Linked DNA regions of Homo sapiens: regions 2 and 3 are each linked to region 1. The links are contacts of gene promoters, found by promoter capture Hi-C in blood cells and fetal thymus (Javierre and others, 2016). All regions are on one chromosome and are shown on one strand. The core of a region is centred on a gene start or on the middle of the fragment in contact, and the rest is flanking DNA. Distances in the headings are between cores, read along the strand shown. Region 1 holds the start of SIGLEC1 (sialic acid binding Ig like lectin 1). Region 2 has its middle 64 kb from the start of SMOX. Region 3 holds the start of LINC01433 (long intergenic non-protein coding RNA 1433).

The links. Contacts are between HindIII fragments. The CHiCAGO score rates a contact against its expected background, and 5 or more counts as called.
Region 2: a contact is called between a fragment that was not itself captured here and the fragment with the promoter of SIGLEC1 in region 1, in 6 of 17 cell types (naive CD8 T cells, naive B cells, total CD8 T cells and 3 more). The highest score is 7.7, in naive CD8 T cells.
Region 3: a contact is called between the fragment with the promoter of LINC01433 here and the fragment with the promoter of SIGLEC1 in region 1, in 1 of 17 cell types (neutrophils). The highest score is 8.4, in neutrophils.

What each region holds. Positions count from the first base shown.
Region 1 is chr20:3,710,823-3,715,005 of GRCh38, reverse strand. SIGLEC1 (sialic acid binding Ig like lectin 1) reads left to right here and starts at 2,406. Exons shown (of 22, transcript NM_023068.4): 1 at 2,406-2,536. The HindIII fragment of the contact is 9,565 bases long and covers 1-4,183 here.
Region 2 is chr20:4,082,546-4,086,890 of GRCh38, reverse strand. No RefSeq gene overlaps it. Among named protein-coding and RNA genes, the nearest start is that of SMOX, 64 kb to the left of the region's middle. RefSeq lists enhancers at 3,540-4,039, 4,040-4,345 and a cis regulatory region at 3,473-4,170. The HindIII fragment of the contact is 2,320 bases long and covers 568-2,887 here.
Region 3 is chr20:4,191,629-4,195,958 of GRCh38, reverse strand. LINC01433 (long intergenic non-protein coding RNA 1433) reads right to left here and starts at 2,869. Exons shown (of 3, transcript NR_033917.1): 1 at 2,713-2,869; 2 at 581-677; 3 at 6-433. RefSeq lists a silencer at 542-723. The HindIII fragment of the contact is 5,002 bases long and covers 1-4,330 here.

The sequences.
Region 1 (4,183 bases), core at 1,157-3,656:
GAACTCCTGGCCTCAAGCGATCTGCCCACCTCGGCCTCCTAAAGTGCTGAGATTACAGGCGTGAGCCACCGTGCCCAGCCTACCTAGTTATTTTTATTTATTTACCTAGTTTGCTGTATACTCAAGGAAATGACAGGAAGCAGTGCTCCCTGACTAATCAAGGTAGACAAGTCTTTGCTCTCCTCATGCTAAGGAAAGGTAAGCAAGTTCTGGGTGTGTTGTTCTGGGACTTAGGCCTTGTATCATCTTGCTAATGTAGCCACAAAATTCTCAGCAGCATCCAGCAATAAATTCACGCATCCACAGGTTGACTGGTCTGGTGGACGTAGGCTGGGCTCAGCTGAGTTTTGTTTCAATCCATGGGTCTGATTCAGGTCATCTGCATGTGTTCGTCATCCTCTTTGGACCAGCAGGTTAGTTGGAGCCTGCCCCTTGCATGGCAATGACAGAAATTCAGGGGGAAAGGCAAACTGCTTAAGTACGTTTCAAGACTTAGTTTGTGTCATGTCCGTGCACATCCATTGGCCAGAGCAAGTCATATGACTAAGGTCAAAGTCAAGGGATGCTTTCCCACCATGAAGCCAAGGGGTGGATGTATAGAGTCCCAGTGGACTGAAGGATTGGTACCCATGTGTCACAACCCCACAGGCCTAGAGCTGGGTGTCTCCGGACCAGCTGTTGAGGGAGGAAGTAATGGGATGAACCCTTTGTGTTTTGGCCGAAAGAGGAAATGGCCCAAGCATAGGAGTGGACACAGGAGCTATAAAGAGGAACAGAGTGATAGAGACCTAATATCTCTGTAGCCTGAGCATTTCAGGGTGGAATGTCACCAGACATCTGCTTTGGGGCACCATGGCCTGCGATTCTGGATCCACCCTGATTTAGGGTTTCACATCCTTTTACACCTGCACACGTGGCCTTGCCCTCAGGGTACAGGGGCCTAATTTGCTGTGGCCAGCTCCCCACCAGTACAGGTAGGCAGGGACTGAGTTGAATTAAGTTTGAGTTGTGAAATTAAAAAAAAAAATGGCCAGGAGTGGTGGCTTACGCCTGTAGTTCCAGCACTTTGGGAGGTCGAGGTGGGAGAGTCACTTGAGCCCAGGTGTTTGAGACCAGCCTGGGAACATAGGGAGACTCCGTCTCTACAAAATAACTTAAAAAATTAGCCGTGCATAGTGGCAAGCGCCTGTAATCCCGGCTTCTTAGGAGGCTGAAGCAGGAGGATTGCTTAAGCCTAGAATTTCGAAGCTGCAGTGAGCCAAAGTGAGCCAAGATTGCACCAGGACACCCCAGCCTGGGCGACAGAGCAAGACACTGTCTCAAAAAACAAAAACAAACAAACAAACAAAAACCAAAAAAAGTCTTGTTGCTTGTATCTGGGATTGCTTGGAGCAATTAACATCTGCTTCACATGTCAAGTGCCTGCACAAACTAGGCCCTCAATAAGATGGGCTGCAGTAATGTAACAGTAACTAGCTGTGGTGGGGGCTTTCCTTTCCTGTCCCAAGGTGGGGGTGAAGGTATAGGATAGTGGCCGGGTGCAGCGGCTCACCTCTGTAATCCCAGAACTTTGGGAGGCCGAGGCAGGCAGATTACTTGGGGTCAGGAGTTCAAGACCAACCTGGACAACATGGTGAAACCCCGTCTCTACCAAAAATACAAAAATTAGCCGGATGTGGTGGTGCATGCCTGTAATCCCAGCTACTCGAGAGGCTGAGGCAAGATGATCACTTGAACTCGGGAGGTGGAGGTTGCCGTGAGCTGAGATTGTGCCACCGCACTCCAGCCTGGACGACAGAGTGAGACTCCATCTCAAAAGCAAAAACAAAACAAAAAGAAAAAAACCAACAACAAGAAGCCAAAAACCAAAAAACGTACAGGACAGTGAGAGGGGAAAGAGAAAACCTGAGGAGTGTCCTGGACATTGGGGCCTTATGTCCCCCACAACACGGGACTGCCTCTTGGGGGTTCTTAAGAGTACTCAGTGGTACAGGGAGGCTCCTGAATGGCTTGGAGAATAACTGCCTTGGTCTGGGCATCGTGTAGTGCATCCCCACCCCAGGCTGGGCGCGCCTCCCTCTCAGGTGTCAGGGAGGAGAGCTGTGTGCAGGAAGCCCCCTTCCACCTCCCCCAGCCTCCCTAAGGGGCTCAGAGAGAGTGGGGTGTGGATTTGGCTGGTGAATGGGAGTCCCCCACTCCATTTCTCACTTTGCCTGGGGAGGCTCCAGCGTTGCAGCGGTCCCACTTCTGCTTGCTGGAGTCCCTAAGTCCCTGGCCTTGCCGAGGGCCTTCCCCTATGGAGGTCTTTCCCGTTTTGGCATTGCGCAAGGCCTGCAGCTGCCTCCCTGACCAGCCTCTGGGTTGGACAGTAGAGCTGAGGCTTTGGGAAAGAGGAAGCAGCCCCTGATACGGGATCCTTCTCTCTTGAGCCGGCAGAGCCCTGGGGAGCCAGCTGCACCAGGAGCTCTTGGCCGTCCTTCCTGTTCTCCTCTCCGCAGGTCCAGCACCGCCGCAGCCACTTCCTTCTGTGGAGCAGGTACCCCTGTCCCTGGTCCCTGGGCCCAGAGGGTGAGTGGAGCATTAGGAGCGGGGCTGGGCTGAAACTGGCTGAGCGGGATAGGGGCAGGGGTCGGGGGGGGGCTCCATCTGGGTGCGAGTGGTGGACCCCAAACCAACCCAAGTCCAAGACACTAATCAAAGATGGACTCAACTGAAACCCTTCCACCACCCCCAAATCCTTCCAACCTGCATCCCAATCCCAGTCCCGACCATCACCCTGCTCTGACCCTACCTCAGCCCCAGCCCCAGCCCCTATTCCAACCTTATCTCACCCTCACCTCACTTGCACCCCAACCCTAACCATTTACTCATCTCATCTAATCCCAACCATCCATCATCCCAACCCTAACCACAACTCCGACTCTATCATCCTCATCTCAACCCAGCCTCCACCGTATCTTAACCATCACCTGCACCCAACTCCAACCTTCACCCTTACCCCCACCCATCACTCAACCTCAATGTCCACCCCAATCCCAGCCTTAATTTGCTTCCAGAATTCCAACCTGATCATCACCCTGACCTCAGCCCCAGCCCAGCCCAACGATAATCTCTCCTTACTCTAACCCCAGCACAATTCCACTTCATCCATCACCACTTCGTCCGTCCACAGGAGGGCTTCTGGTGCTGTCCAGCACAGTTTGGAGAGTGAGCACTCCAGCCAGAAGCATTTAGAGCCAGATTAAGGAATGAAGTGTGAAATTTCTACTGCCCATGTCAAAGCCAATAAGCATTAGTTATGGATTCTATGGCTCTGAGAATTAAACATTTGGCCTGTGATTGGGGATTTCCACTATTTTGACCATAATCTGCTCCAGGAATTGCCCATCCGTACCCTGACTCCCTATCTGTGGGCCAGTAACCTCCAGCTGGCCATGTCACCCTGTGTTCTTCCTTCTCTAGCCCAATGGGGAAGTTGGGGAGAAGCCTTGGTGTCAGGAAACAGAAACTGAATCCTACACCCGGGCCTAGCTGTCCATAGGGAAACTGCCTCTGCCCTTTCTTCCCCAGCTAAACTTGGCCTCTGGAATCAGAGGTCAGGGACTTGGGGCCCCAGCCAACCCTCCAAGACCTCCTGAGGCACTTGGTCTCAAACAGGCAGCAAACGTGAGTGCCCACTGTGTACCAGGCCAGCTCAAGCCACCCTGATGCAACACATACCAATAGTAGGAGTGGGGATTTAAAATCCTGTCTTCAGAGCACCCAAGACTTGGAGACCCAAGTATGAACCTCAGGAACCTCCTGTCTGGGGAACAATGATTTCCAAAAGAGTCACCCAAGGGAGGGATGGTTCAGGGCTGCAGAGCTGCCTGCTCCCTGTTGCTGGCACACCGCCCCCTTTCCCGGGACCCGCAATTCCCCCTCGACCACCAGGGGGCGCTGCGTGCTCACTAGGCCACAGCTGCAACCCAAGTTGCGGGGGGCGGGGGGCGGGGCACTGTCCCCTCAACTCCAGGCTTTCAAACAGGGACAGAGATCTCCTTTCTGAGCGGTCCCTGCTCTTTCTGTTTCCAGAACAGTTATCTGGGCTGAAGCTGGCCTTTGTGGTGACAGGCTGAGCCAATAGGCTGGATTCCGGTGGGGCTGACCCCTTTGGGGTTAGGGCCGGGCTAAGCATAGGTGG
Region 2 (4,345 bases), core at 478-2,977, 370 kb before region 1:
AGAACCGTGAGCCAAATACATTATTTTCTTTATAACTTACCCAGTCTGTGGTATTCAGTTATAGCAGCAGAAATGGACTAAGATGGAACACAAGAGAGGGAAGGAAGTGCAGAGAGAGGGGGAGAAGAGGGAATAAAACTTCCCCAGAGCTGCGGAGAGCCTACCCCATCTCTTCATCCCTGGGAATCAGGGAGGGGCTGCAGACACAGCCCCTAAGCCTGCTCTGCATGATGAGAAGCATAAAGACCTGACCCTACAGCGTAGTACCCTAAGCATGTTCCTCCTGCCTGCGATGAAAGGGGCTATCTCCCCACCCACATACAACCCATCTGCCTCAGGTGTCCACACCATGGAGGCAGAATGTCATGGGCTTGCTGTCAGACCATGTCAGATCATGCTGGGAGATAAATTCCCACCATTAACTCAGAACATGGTGGTGCTGGTTGTGGGGTCCTATGGCCAGAGCCTATGCCCTCGCTGTCCATGATAGCTGCATGGGGGGTGTAGGCTGGCACCAGCTACAGATGCCCTGAGAGCTGCTGTCCAAAGAGCTGTTCTGAAGAAGCTTTGCTGAGGGGCACAGGGCCGTGGGGGGAGAGAGAGGCAGCCGTGGGGGCGCCCCAGATGTTGCCCCATGCCCTTCCAGGGCCTGCCTGGAACTGAAGACACGAGCCCTTGTGAGAGTCAGAGGCACTCGGTCGGGCGCGGTGGCTCACGCCTGTAATCCCAGCACTTTGGGAGGCCGAGGCGGGCGGATCACGAGGTCAGGAGATCAAAACCATCCTGGTTAACACGGTGAAACCCTGTATCTACTAAAAATACAAAAAAATTAGCCGGGCGTGGTGGCGGGCGCCTGTAGTCCCAGCTACTCGGGAGACTGAGGCAGGAGAATGGCGTGAACCCAGGAGGCGGAGCTTGCAGTGAGCCGAGATCGCGCCACTGCACTCCAGCCTGGGCGACAGAGCGAGACTCCGTCTCAAAAAAAAAAAAAAAAAAAGTCAGAGGCACTCATCTGAGTTCCCACTTCAAATTGGCAGAGGTCAGGGAGGAGTCCCCACGATAGGACCTACAGGCTGGCAAAGAACGTGCAGGTGGAGGAGGCAAGACAGTGAGGTCACACCAAGGGGCCGGAGAGAGGTCATTCCATGACTGATGTTCTTGGAATCCGGAATCTGCCCTGCGTGCACAAAAATGCCCTCGGAGAGCACGGGGCTGGGGAGCTGGCAGAATCTTCACAGATGCTGAAGAGAGGCACAGCGCAGGCCCTCCCCTGAGTCTTCCCTGATGAAAAAAGGAGGCCAAGGGCAAAGCGGAGAGTGCCGGAGAGCCCTCATTCCTGTTCCCTCGCCACCTGGGGCCCGGGAACCAGACGGACCCTGCGTTAGGATGTGCCGTTGCTGCCTGACTTAAGGCTGGAAAAATACCACGCCCAAGGGTTGGCAGGGGGCTGTGGCTGACCACCAGGGGGCAGCTGTGAGCCCCATGGCCAGGCACGCGCATAGCTCTCTTCAGGGAAAGCAAGCCAGGCTTTCACTGACTGAGACCCTGCTTTAAAAATCTCAGCCAGTAGCTGCTCCCCTGAGCCCATAAGGAGTCCTCAGGTTGAGAGGTGTGCGATGTCCTCCAAGAAACCTTTGTCCCAATAGGCAGACCCCTAAATACCCCAACCACGTTTCAGTACCAAAAATGGGATCCTATACTTTAAAAACCTGACCTTGGTGTGACCCCTAACCCTGGCCTCAGACTTCCCCCAAACCCATTGCAATCCTTCATTTATTTAACCAGTATTTATTTAGCATCTACTATATACCAGCAGCCTATTAGACACCTGGGATTCTTCAGTGAACAAATCAGACAAAGACCCCTGCCCTCCTGGGACTTCTATTCTCTGAAAGGAAGGTGCCATTGAACCATCCACAGTTGCCCGTGATTGGCCAGAATGATTTGGGTGGCTCTGAATGAAGCCATCATGCAATTCAGCTTCGGACAGGTGACTCAAGTGGTTCTAAGGAGCCTCGCCTTACAGCTTGAGCATTAGGCCTCCTGACCATCAGACCCAGAGAGAGTGATGAAGACTGAGGACATCTGAGTCTAGGAGAGACTTCAACTTTTTGGCGTGTGACTTCCATTTCTTTCTCTCAAAAGTAGAGGATAGTGCCTTATTCTTTGAAATTTGCAATGTACTGCCTTTCGACTACAGGGCTTTCACAGAGCAGAAATCTGTTGCTTATTTGATCTGAAACTTCAGTGCTCAGAGAAAATATTCACCTCGGTCTCATTGCATCATTCTCTGAAGAAGGGCCTCTGGGTACCAGTGGCCAAAATCTCATCCTCTTATTCCAAAGATTGGTTCCCCTCTCTGTCTTCTCTCTCTGCGTGTTTATGGCACCATTCTTCCCCAGAGACCTCAGCTGGAAATCTCAGCCTCATATCTAATTCCTCTCTCTTTCTTCCCCAGATCAATCCAGACACCCATCAGTTCTACCTTCTAAATGCCTCTTGATCCTGTTCTCTCCTCTCCACCCCATAGCCACTGCACTGGCCAGGCCACCATCTTTGCTCACCCACACAATTGCCATGTCACAGTTGATCCCCAGATTCCTGTTCTGAAGATACTACTGTCAAGCCCCTGTGCATGGTGTCCTTCAGGCTCATTCGCTTCACCTGAGGGCCCAACCAGGCAAGCTCTCTCCCTGCTGCCTCCTGCCATCCCTACTTACCCCTCTGGACCTCTGCTCCTCTCCTGGCACCTGTACTTCCTGCAGCTCCTCTCTAAAATTTACCAAAATACTCTATCTCCACTTTCACCCTCCCAGGAAGCTCTCCCCAACCAGGCCATTCAAGTAATTCCTTCCTCTATAGCATCTTATTCTTCACTATCCAAGCTTACCTGGGGCAAAGTCCTGTGTTCCCGCAAAACTGTGAGCTCCTGAAGTCAGAGTCAGTCTTTGTCTCCTCTTTGGCCTCAACTAGTGCCTGGTCCCCATGAAGGACCTAGAAGATACCTGCTGCATGGCAGATAGAGCTAAAGGCATCAGTGGCATGGTTAAATCAACCTATGACACCTCAACTCTCAGAAATATGGAGTAGATGTGTTTTTTCCTATTCTTTCCAGTAAATATGGCTAAAAACCCTAGATACTGCCTATAAAACAAGCATCTGAAAGCAGAGAGAAGAAGGCAAACCAGCTAGGGACTTTGGGGCCTAGGGAATGACACAGCAATGAGTTCTCTGGGTTTATCTTTTTGGCTCATATATCCCAGACAGTGTGCAAAGAAGCCAGCATTCTGGAAACAACAATGGGAATAGATGCCCCACAAAAGCCCAAGAAAATCCTGCTCTGCTTGCCAAAGGACCAAGATGGAGTGGCCTAGCAAAACAGAAAACTTTTAGACAATGATCGTTCTGTGCCAGCCAAATACCATAGGAAAAAATGTAAGACCCCACCCCCACCCGCACCATCAAAGGCTGAGTGGGGAGCCTCGGCTTCATGGCTAGGCTCAGGCTGGACTTCACGGCTTCAGGCTATCATGAGGTTTCAATCTCCTTCCCCCTGGCCAGGCTAGTGTCAGAAAAAGCTGGGTGGGAAGCCAGGACTTTTATCCCGCTGGGCAGCAATGAGGTCTCCCTTCCCAGGGGTGTCAGTGGAGACCACATGGGAAGCCTGGACTTTCATTCCCAGCTGGTGGTAACGGAGCACCCCTCCTCCTCTCCCCCGCCCTCCTCCTCTCCCCCGCCCTCCTCCTCTCCCCCGCCCCCCTCCTCTCCCCCGCCCCCCTCCTCTCCCCCGCCCCCCTCCTCTCCCCCGCCCCCTCTCCAGTGGTCTCAGAGGAAGCCTGGTGGAGACTCAGGACTTTCGCAACTGCCAAACGGTAACAAGGCTATCCTGCTTCCCCACAGTATCAGTGGAGGTCACATGTGAAGCAGTGACAAGGGAACTCTGCCCCTCCCAGCCAGGGTGTTGTCGATGGAGACCTAGTAGGAAGCCTGAACCCTACCCACTGCCCAACAGTGATGAGGCGCTCCTTCCCTGACCCTGACTGTCAACAGAGGCAGAGTGGGGAACCTGGACCTTCACCTCACCTGACAGGAACAAAGTAGCAGCCCCTTTCCCTAGAGCAAGTCAGAGGAGGCCTCTGCTAAATCAGATTTAAAGAAGCTCCAAGGTCTCACAACAGAAACTCAAAATGTTGAGGTTTCCGTTGAAAATGACTCATCAAACCAAGAACCAAGAAAACCTCAAATTGAATTAGGAAAAATAATCAACAGACACCAGTGCCTAGGTGACATGGATATTAGAATTGTCTGACAAGAATTTCAAAGCAGCCATCATGAAAATGCTTCA
Region 3 (4,330 bases), core at 1,620-4,119, 480 kb before region 1:
AATGATACTGTAGAATATTATAATCTTATTTTATTCACTTATTCAACAGTAATTAAAGGCACTCCCATGATTTTATGTTGTTTGTTTTAATTCAGAAAAGCTCACGGAGAATCCAGGACACACATTTTCTCGGTGCAGCAAGAGGGCTGTGTCCCCATCTGGGCGGCAGATGGCACCAGAGGATGTGGATCAGCCCTTGAGGTTGTCCTTGCTTCCAGAGATCCTGGAAGCCGGGGTACCCCCTACCCTGCCCAGCCACAGTGAGAAGGGGAGCCAGTCCAGCCCTTCCCATGTCTCCATCTGCAGCCTGAAGAACCTCACCAACAACCGCTAGTGCATGACAGTGAGGATGCCGCCAGAGCAAGTGTAGAAAATGCTGCTGTGCAGCTTGACTGAAGGAGAGGCCCAGGAAGGTGGTTCCCGAGGAAGGTGGCTGATGGGAAAGACATGAGCATAGTGAAATGTGGGTAGAAAGGATGAAGTAGAATGATAGGGGACGGAAAGGACGAGGCGACGTCCCTGCACTTGAGGCATGGGAAGCACAGGTGGAGGGTCAGCCTAGGAGAGGCAGAAGCCTTACCTGCCACTGTCTGCAGGGAAGCTCCAAAGGACAGGCATGAAGGCTGGTGAGCTTGTCGATGGGTGAGGAAGTTGCCTCCAGGTGGCTTCTATTTTGTCTATGAAGCAAGAGACCAAATTGCCTATTGACAAATGATGGTGGAGAGGGGTGTCCTCCGGATTTCCACCATTTATCTTGGCTTCTTCAATCCCTTGCTTATTCATTCTGCAAATATTTATTGATAACCTATTATGCTAGGCACTATTTTGGACTCATTGGACGTGCAGAAGTGAACATAGAACTTACATTCGGGGTTGAGGGAAAATAAATAAACACATAAACATCAAAACCAAAAACATCGGGGAAAGAGAAGGACTATGAAGAAACAGGCAGGATGAGAGAGCAGAGAGTGCGGGAGGCTGTGGAAACAAGGTGCTCAAGGAAGTCTTTTGCTCAGGAAGTCTTCCCAAAGAAGTGACATCTGAGTAGAGATCTGAAGGCAGCAGCAAAGAGCCTTGCAAATATCTGGGGTACGGGGGCATTTCAGTTAAGGAGGACAGCCAGGGTAAAGGGAAGGAGAGGGTGGAGAGGAGGTGCGACCCAGGGAGACAGATCACATAGGATGTTGGAAATCACCTTTGATCGTTAGCATGATGGTTGTTACTAAGAACCAGGGAAGTGGCGTGGCTGGATTTATATTTTGAAAGGATCATGCTGCTGCTGTGTAGAGGACAGGCTAAAAGGGACAGTCGTGGAAAAAGGAACCCCACTTAGGAGGCTGTTGCAGCCATACACAGCAGAGATGTGAGGAGCGGTGAAGGAGGCTCAAAGTCATCAGACTCAGGATGTGTTTTGTAGGGAGAGCCAACAAGATTTGCTGATTGCAAATCTGATGATCAGATGTGGAATATGAAAGAAAAAGGAGTTGATGATGGCCCAGGTGTTTGCCCTGGGCCAAATGGTGGTACCACTTACTCAAATGTGGAAGACCAAGGGTAGATTAGATTTAGGAAGAAGCAGAATTTCTGCTTTAAATATGTTAAGTCCCTGGAAAGATTCTGCAGGCAGTGTTGTTATTTGCTTTGCTTCGGCCAGCAGGTGTGGCTCTGTTTTTTTCCAGCAGCAACTGATGGTGGCCCAGCCGTAGCTGTAGACTGAATGCTGATTGGAATTGTGTCAATTGGCTTTAACAAAACAGGGGGTAAGAGAGTTGAGGGTATTAGAAAGAGACCCAGTGAAATGACAGACCAAATGTAAAACTCCAGTCCTGGAACCAATTTTAATTAGTTTGAACTGATCAGAAGTGACAGAAGCCTAACCCAAACTAATTTGAGCAAAAGAGGAGGAACCAATGGCTCAAGTAACAGAAAGCACACCCAAGTAGCTCATAGAAGAGAAGAAAGAGCTTCAAGGCATAATAAAGTGGCCACATGACCTTGAACTGGGGATGAAAGACAGCTGTGTAACCCCATGTGCCCCATGTATGGGAGTGGGATGGTAGCAGATCTAAGACAAAAGGGAGTAGCTGGGACTACAGTGAAATGGAGAGGGAATACCCAATCCAACGCATTGAAATTGCACAAACACAGAGTTTGCAGAAATAAAATGTGCCTAACACTTTGCATTCTCTGAGAGAGATCCAGGCTTTGAACGTTCTGGCAAAATCGGTGTTAAACAATCACCGCTAGAATCATGGGAAGTGAGAAGACTTTTGTACCTACCAGTCTCAAGCTGAACAGTATGAAACAGGGCAGTGAACGACCCCCTTTTTTAATATTAAATACATAACACAAGATTAGATGTCCTGGCTGCCACCTTAGTAGAGCAACAACTCTGCCTGCGTGTTGATGGCTTGATTGTCCTACACAAATAAGGAGTCTCAACAAACAGCCCAGCCAGTCATTATAAAGAATACAGCCTTCTGTAACTCTACCATTAAGTTTGGCAGACCACTAATTAGACAGGCAATTCTCAAGAACTGAACCAGCAGCCTAACTCACTCTGCACCTTGGAGTTACCCTTGAGCTCACCCCCAACAGGACCTAGTAAGTTAAGGTGACTCAAACTAGAGGTGCTTCACTCCTACATTTGTTTGCAGGAGGGGCAGACACTCCAGGCAGCTCCCAAGAAATAGGATATAACATATTACTCACCTGTCATACAGCAGCAAAGGCAGCAAGAGACAGCGCCTGCCAAATACCCCAGGCCCTTGGAGGACACAGTTCTGAGGTTTGCACAAAGCCACAGCTAAATACCTTCACCTGAAGTCCCTGATGCCCACAGCACGAGAAACCATGCAACCAATTCTCCATAGAACCTGGTGCAGGAAAGAACTTTCCTCTCCTGTGAACTTCTACCAGGCAATGGGAATTTTATAGGAATCATTGGCATGGGTGTTGGCCTGAGCGTGCCACATTTGCCACTTCTGATAGAGCCCTTTGGGTTTCAATCTATGCCAAGTCTATTGTGAAACTTCATCACAGCATGAAACATATCCTGTGTTCCTTGTACGTCATACCTCCTCACTTCTGAATGGCTCTTGCTCTTCCTTGCTCATCTGTAGTGAGTGAGTTTGGTTTTTGGAACTGTCAATCATAAATGGTATCCACATTATGCAATTATTGATGTGGAGGCAGCACACTGCAGGAGGTGCCCCCTCTGGCGCCTGTCCCTGCCTGTGTGTCCAAAGGCTCCCCCTCGGCTTCCTCCCCGGGTTGCTCCCTTCCCCACGAGGTCATGTCCTCTCCAAGCCGAGTAGCCTTGCATGGCCTCCCCGAGGTCCTTCCGAGAACCTCCATTTCCTCTGCTGTGGAACAATCCCAACCCCTCTTTCGTGGTTGCAGATGCAGAGAGGATAAGGGGATACAGGCAATGGAGCTGGTAAACAGTGACATCCTATATTAATTTGAGGTCACTGCTTATCACCAGGCAGCCAGTGGGGCCTAAGAGGGCCCCTCCTCCCTTTATCTGCTCTCAGATGTGTCATCTCTGCTGCAAGGAGGAAATTAGCTGGGCCAATATGACCATGTTTTGGAATGGGAGAATGGAGGGAGGCATTCTCAGACTCTTGAAACTTTCTTCCATGTATAACTTGATGCATTTTTACCAACGTGTATGCCCATGCAACCGCCACCCAGATCAAGATGTGGAACACTTCCGTTACCCCAGGAAGTGCCCCCATCCCACTCCTGCCCAGCCGCCACCCCCAGCCCCTCATTTCCAACACAGTAGATTAGTTTTGCAAGTTCTTGAACGTTACATAAAAGAAATCATATAGTACATAGCCTTTTGTCCGGCTTCTTTAACTCAACATAATGTTTTGAGGGTTTTTGTTGTGTTGTTGTTGTTGCTGTTGCTGTTTTGAGATGGAATCTTGCTCTGTTGCTCAGGCTGGAGTGCAGTGGCATGATCACAGCTCACTGCGGACTCAACCTTCTGGGTTCAAGCATTTCTCCCACCTCAGCCTCCCCAGTAGCTGAGACTATAGGCACGCACCACCATGCCCAGCTAATTTCTGTATTTTTTGTGGAGACGGGGTTTCGCCTTGTTGCCCAGGCTGGTCTTGAACTCCTGAGCTCAAGCAATCCACCTGCCTTGGCCTCTCAAAGTGCTGGGGGTACATGAGCCATCATACCCTGCCAACATAACATTTTTGAGGTTAATCCATGTTGTTGCAAATATCCATTCCTTTTATTTATTGCTATATAGTATTCCATTGTGTGAGTGCACTGGAATTCATTCTACTGTTGATGGACATCTGGGCAGCTTCCA